2 separate regions of the Homo sapiens genome follow, and region 2 is linked to region 1. The links are contacts of gene promoters, found by promoter capture Hi-C in human tissues and cell types (Jung and others, 2019). All regions are on one chromosome and are shown on one strand. The core of a region is centred on a gene start or on the middle of the fragment in contact, and the rest is flanking DNA. Distances in the headings are between cores, read along the strand shown. Region 1 holds the start of KRT17 (keratin 17). Region 2 overlaps LOC105371777 (a long non-coding RNA gene).

Region 1 (3,250 bases), core at 387-2,886:
CTAGGACTCACTTGGTGCGGAAGTCATCAGCAGCCAGACGGGCATTGTCAATCTGTAGCAGGATGTTGGCATTGTCCACGGTGGCTGTGAGGATCTGAGGAGAAGGGAGAGTAGTCAGGTCATTGGATGGGGGTGGCTGAGCCCACACCAGGGTTCTGAGCAGATCTTCCTGCCTCAGGGCCTCTCTTCTCGCCCAGCCCCTCCCTTGCCCCGTGCTGTATTATTGGCAGAGGAGGGGCAAACAGGAGTCTGAAGGGCTGAAAGGTGCCTCTTCTTCCCCCGATACTCAGTACCCCACCAGACCCCCATGGCAGGCTCGGCCTTAAAGGAGAAGAGACAGCTGGCTGGGAGTATGAGGCAACCAGAAAAGAATGGGAAAATGTCCCCAGGGCAGAAGCTGTCCCAGAATTCTAGAACAAGGGAGGGGATGTGGGCAACCCCCTCGTTTTACAGTCAGCTAGAGGGTGCCCCTGACAGGCTCCCCCAAAAGGAGGCTAAAGGAGCCCTCATTAAAGAGTGGTTCCAAATCAAAAGTCAGGACCCCTCCTAATCCCTAACCCTGGGCGCCAGCCAGCAGCCCCGCCCCCTGGGGTTTGCTGAGCCCGTCTTAAGGGACAGCAGGAGGAAAGGAGAAGCCAGAAAAATCCCCAAATAAGGCACATCAGAGGCCTTCCCCACACTGAGGTCCCGCCCCCTCCTTTCTGCCTCCTCCTGCAGCAGGTGCTATCAGGAGCTCACTCAGACACCCCCACTCCACATCACCCAAAACCCCCTCCTGTTGACCCCTGCTCCAAAGGAGCAAGACACCACACATCCAGCAGCCCACGGGCCCAGCCCTCCATCTGCATCCTCCTGCCTCATCCTACAACCTCTCCAGGTGGCGGAGCTCCACGAGGGAGAAACTGAGGCTCCAAGGGGCTCCACAAGGCCTCTTTGTTCCTGACTCAGCTTGCTGTCCCCAGAAAAGGGGGATGTGAGCCACACAGGGGCCCCAAGGCAGGTTCCCAGAAGCTAAGCCACAGCCAAACCACCCTTGGCTCCCTGAGACCCTATGGCTGGACTCCAGGCCTTTGGCCAAGGCAGGAGTTGGGGGGAAGAAGTCATGCCCCCCGGAGACCCCTCCCACCAGCAGGCCCTACCTTGTTCTGCAGCTCCTCAATTGTCCTGTAGTACTGGCTGTAGTCACGGGCGGGCCCCGGGGCCTGCCTCTGGTACCAGTCACGGATCTTCACCTCCAGCTCAGTGTTGGCCTCCTCCAGGGCACGCACCTTGTCCAGGTAGGAGGCCAGGCGGTCATTGAGGTTCTGCATGGTGGCCTTCTCACCTCCAGCCAGCAGCCCATCAACACCCCCAAAGCTGCTGCCATAGCCACCACCAGAGCCAAAGCTGTAGCAGCTGGAGTAGCTGCTACCCCCGAGGGTGCTGCCCAGGCCGCCAGCAGATCCCAGCCTGCAGGAGCCGGCACCCAGGCCGCCAGACAGCCGGCAGGAGGTGCGGGACGAGCCGCCCCCCAGGCCGGAGGAGCCCTTGATGGAGCTGGAGGAGGTGAACTGGCGGATGGAGGTGGTCATGGTGGCGGCGGCAGGAGGCAGGCACACAGGAGAAGGGCTGGAGAGGAGAGGGGCCCCAAGTTGTGTAGGGCTGCCGGGGTTCGCCCGCTTCCTTTATAGGCCACCAAGTGGGCGTAGCGATTACAACAGGCTTGCTCCTCTGTTTCCATTCCCCTGGGCTTTCATCACCACTGGCCACCTGCCAGCTCCCAGGTGGCTGGGGGCCCCCTCCCCGCCCATCATCAGGAATTTGCCTCATTTCTCCAAATCCTCGTGCTGAGTGCCGTGCGTGTGCGTGCCTCTGGTCTCAGGCCCGTCACCTGTGATTCAGGCGGGCCCTCCAGCTATGCTTTCCCATGACCTAATACGGAGAAGAGGAGAAGGCAGGACGTCACCGTCCCCAGGCCCTCCCAGGCAGCCACCACCCCAGCCTGGCCCGCCTCAACCCTGTCTGGTGGGGAAATGGGTTGCAGTGTCAGCTGACCCCCCCGCCAAAGTTGCTGTCTTTCACCCCACACTGCTCCACCCACGGTGCTGGCCCCGGGGCTGGGTGCTGAAGAGAAAGAGGAGACCGAGAGCCTATCCTGCCTTGGAAACTGAGCCCAAACCCACCAGGCCCACCTCACAGCATAGAAATGCCATCAAGCCTCGGAGACCAACCCACATCACAGATAAAGAAATTGGGGCTCCAGAGGGGTGCCGTGTCCACACTGGCCCCTTCTGCAGAGCCTGACACCCAGGAATGCACTCTAGGGGCTACAGTTCCATCCAGTCAGCTTCTGACCCTGCCCCATCCCTAGAAATCCTTGCTAACCCAGTCTCTTCGTGTAAACCTTTCCCCAGGTTTACACTCCAGGCTGGGGTGGGCAAACAGGGGCTCAGCTATAGGATGGGGAAATGGTGGGCTGTGCCAACTGAGAGGGGGATGCCCCCTTCCACTCCCCTCACCCTTCTGTACCCCAAGAGACCTCAGGGTCAGGTGACGGGTATTTATCTCAGGTCTCAGCCCACAGGAAACCTAAAGGACATTGCCCAAGAAGAGGCTCTTACAGAGACCCCAGCCAGCCCCCTTCCCACTCCAGGCTCCCCAAGATGTGGCTCCTCAGGTGGGCCATGTGCCCCACCCCACAGCCCCACCCTGCCCTGCCCACCACCCCAAGCCCGGCCCTGGGTCCCAGGGTCCCGCCAGGCCCGCTGGGTGGAATGTGGTCATGTTTCAGACTGCCGATGGCTTCCACTTCCCAGACAGGCCCAGACGGCCCCGCCAGCAGCCGAGAGACATTCCTCAATAGCCCAGTGGCTGCCAAGCCACCAAAGCAAACAGGATGCCCCCTACGCGTACACGCACAGCGGCCACCCCGCCCCACACACACCCCGAGCTGGGGCAGAGCCGGTCTGGTTTCCTGGGCTGGCTGCGTCACTGCCATGCCCTCTCACTCATCAATGCCATGGACCACTCCTTCAGAAGCCCCTCCCCACCAAGCCCCTCTCCTTCTGCTCTTGAACCCGCCCTGGGCTGAGGCAGGGAGTGCTCCCCAACAGGCACCATCCTTGGAAAGTCTGTGTGGCCCTCCCAGGGACCAGCCACAGGTGACAGGGACTCAGGGGCTGATTCTTAGAAACTTTTCCCAATACAAGGGGCTGTCCCATCCCTCCACCCTTAATCTTTCCGCCTCCTCCCCTCTCATCTTTCCAGGAGC
Region 2 (3,250 bases), core at 220-2,719, 720 kb before region 1:
GCTGGGGATACAGTAGTTAAAAAAACACAAACGTTTCTGCCCTGGCGGAACTTAGATTCAGGGGTGGGAGCTAGAGGTGAAGGGAGTAGGTCAGAGGAGAAAAAGGAAGGGTGGGGAGGGCTGGGAAAGTTGCCCTTGTGTGTAGAGAGATGAGAATGGGCCTCCCTGTGAGAGTGGTATTTGAATGACAGCAGGAAGAAAAGAGCCATATGGCAGCTCAGGTGCAAAGGTCTATAGCAGTTTAGGTGTGAGTGTGGGTGGAGCAGTGGGGATGTGGGGGTGCTCAGGGATGGAAGGGAGGGTGGTGGAAAGGACCTCAGCAATTCGGAGGTGAATGGTGAGGGATGTGGATGCCATCATCCAGCAAGGAACCTGCCTTTTACTCTGTGATATGAGAAGCCACCGAACTTTGGCGATGGAGTAATTCCTTATATCTTTAAAAAGAGGCACAAAGACCACACCTCATAAATACTGACATCATATTAACAGAATAGATAATACACCACTTTTTCAAATGTATCTTTTTTTCTTTTAATCGCTGAGAGGGAAAAGTAGTATCAGTGGCAGCACACACACACACACACACACACACACACGGAAGAAATGGAAATAAAAGCTAAAGAACAAACTAGTAATGATTCGGAGTGAGACCCCTAACACCTCCCGAATGGGGGCAAGAAGCTCAGGACTCTGGTAGCCCAGGCAGAGTCTGAGTAACTGGCGTTGCCTCTCTTCATGCATCTACCTGATCCACCTGTCCTTCTACCCACCCCTCTGATCCCTAGGAATTCTGAGAGCCTGGTATCACCCAGGTACAAGATGAAGAAGTCTATTGTCCCCTAGAGGGTAAATGGCAAGAGGTGCAGTTTAGGAGGATTCTCAGTCTGGGAGGAGAAGCTAGCTGAGAGCTTGCCACAGATGTAAGCAGGAACGCCCGGCTGAAGTGGGAACGAGGCAGAGGCTGGAAGACACAGCAGAGTGCTGTGCAACAGATGCCGCCTGGCAGACATGGTGCTCTCATCACAAGAGACTGTTATTTGGTACTGAAGTAGCCTTCACATTCCATAGAAAAATGTCTTTCTATTTTTTATATTATACTTTAAGTTCTGGGGTACAGGTGCAGAACATCCAGGTTTGTTACATAGGTATTGATGCGCCATGGTGGTTTGCTGCACGCATCAGCCTGTCATCTACATTAGATATTTGTCCTAATGCTCTCCTCCCACAGCCCTCCACGCCCCGACAGTCCCCAGTATGTGATGCGCCTCCCACCCCCCGTGTCCATGTGTTCTCACTGTTCAACCCCAACTTATGAGAGAGAACACACGGTGTCTGGTTTTCTGTCCTTGTGTTAGTTTGCTGAGAATGATGCTTTCCAGCATCATCTATGTCCCTGCAAAGGACATGAACTCATCCTTTTTTATGACGGCATAGTATTCCATTGTGTATCTGTGCCACATTTTCTTTATCTGGTCTATCATTGATGGGCAATTGGGTTGGTTCCAAGTCTTTGTTATTGTGAACAGTGCTGCAATAAACATATGTCTGCATATGTCTTTATAGCAGAATGATTTATAATCCTTTGAGTATATACCTAGTAATGGGATTGCTGAGTCAAATGGTATTTCTGGTTGTAGATCTTTGAGGAATCGCCACACTGTCTTCCACAATGGTTGAACTAATTTACACTCCCACCAACAGTATAAAAGCGTTCCTAAGAAAAATGCCTTTCAATCCTTTACCTTATTCCATGATCACCAATTTTCTGATACCTAATTCAGTGTGCAGGCACATTGATTCCAAGACAGGTTCATGGTATAATGGCAAAACAACAGCAAGACAACTTCCATTGTAAATGAACGGGGGCTTCTTGTTCCTTGGGTTTAGCTGGCTCCATTCCCTTAGCTCCTGACCAACCTTGGTAAAATAAAATTTCTAAACCTTGAAGCTTGAGGACTGGACCTTTACCAACAAATGTGTGTTGAAGAGTGAGCATGGGAGGTGCAGTGAGTGTAGGGGCTCACCTGGAAATACTCCGCTCCTCCTAAGCATTGCTCCAGCGTGGCACCCACAGCCACAGAAGGAAGCACAGCACAGGAGATCCATCAGGGTGTCCCATGAAATGCTGCATCCGAAGCATGGGCCAAAATATCTAGACCTCAATGAAGAGCTATAAAGGGGTGTTAGGGGATACAGCATCTAACATAGAAAGCACGCTGTCCATGGTTATTAAGTGAATGCATGGATGAACAGGAGGAGTCCAAATTATCTGTTTTAAAGAGGAAGACATTTCTTTGTGTTTTTAATCCTTCTTGTTTTTATGGTGTCTACTACCAATTAAAATGTATTGTGCCATGTTTCTTAATTAAAATAAGAAATTTGATTGCATGTTTCTGTTGGTAAATGATCATACAAGAATCATTCATGTCAGCTTTGTTCTGGGAATGAACACAGGATATGGGGTCAAGATACGTGGGGTAACTCTGTTACCAAGACCTTTAAGGAAATAGTATTATTGAATAGAAAATGGAACATTTGGGCTCTGAAGTCTTATTTCATGACATTTAAAGTGTTTATTTAGCTCTGGCTTCCTCTGCTGGAAGATTGACTTTCTTATTTGCTCCTGTAACGGATGGATATGCTGTGTGGCTGTAGAGCTCCTTCCCTCCCTCCCTCCTTTCCTTCCTTCCTTCCTTCCTTCCTTCCTTCCTTCCTTCCTTCCTTCCTTCCTCCCTCCCTCCCTCCCTCCCTGCTTGCCTTTCTCTTTCTTTCTTTCTCTCTCTCTCTTTCTTTATTCTTCCTTCCCCCCTCCCTCTCTGTCTCCCTTCCCTTTTCTTTTCTTTTTTCTTTCCTTTCCTTTCCTGTTTTCCTTCCTTCCCTCTTTCATTCCTTTCTTTCCATCCCTAGTTTTCTTTTCTTTTCTTTTCTTTTTTTTTTTTTTTTTGAGGCAGAGTCTCACTCTTGTCCCCCAGGCTGGAGTGCAGTGGTGCAATCTTGGCTCACTGCAAGCTCCACCTCCCGGGTTCACGCCATTCTCCTGCCTCAGCCTCCCGAGTAGCTGCGACTACAGGCGCCCACCACCAGACCTGGCTAATTTTTTGTATTTTTAGTAGAGATGGGGTTTCACCGTGTTAGCCAGGATGGTCTCGATCTCCTGACATCGTGACCTGCCCGCCTCAGCCTCCCAAAGTGCTGGGATTACAGGTGTGAGCCACTGTGCCCAGCCTCTATCCCCAGTTTTATATTGAAT

The links. The method cuts DNA at HindIII sites, captures the fragments that hold promoters and counts their contacts. A contact is called where the count stands out against the background at its distance.
Region 2: a contact is called between a fragment that was not itself captured here and the fragment with the promoter of KRT17 in region 1, in 1 of the 25 tissues and cell types used here (dorsolateral prefrontal cortex).

The regions. Positions count from the first base shown.
Region 1 is chr17:41,622,939-41,626,188 of GRCh38, forward strand. It overlaps KRT17 (keratin 17), which reads right to left and starts at 1,637. Exons shown (of 8, transcript NM_000422.3): 1 at 1,140-1,637; 2 at 12-94. The coding sequence starts at 1,571. The HindIII fragment of the contact is 8,196 bases long and covers 1-3,250 here.
Region 2 is chr17:40,904,605-40,907,854 of GRCh38, forward strand. The region is part of intron 1 of LOC105371777 (a long non-coding RNA gene); the gene reads left to right. Among named protein-coding and RNA genes, the nearest start is that of KRT20, 21 kb to the left of the region's middle. The HindIII fragment of the contact is 3,141 bases long and covers 1-3,040 here.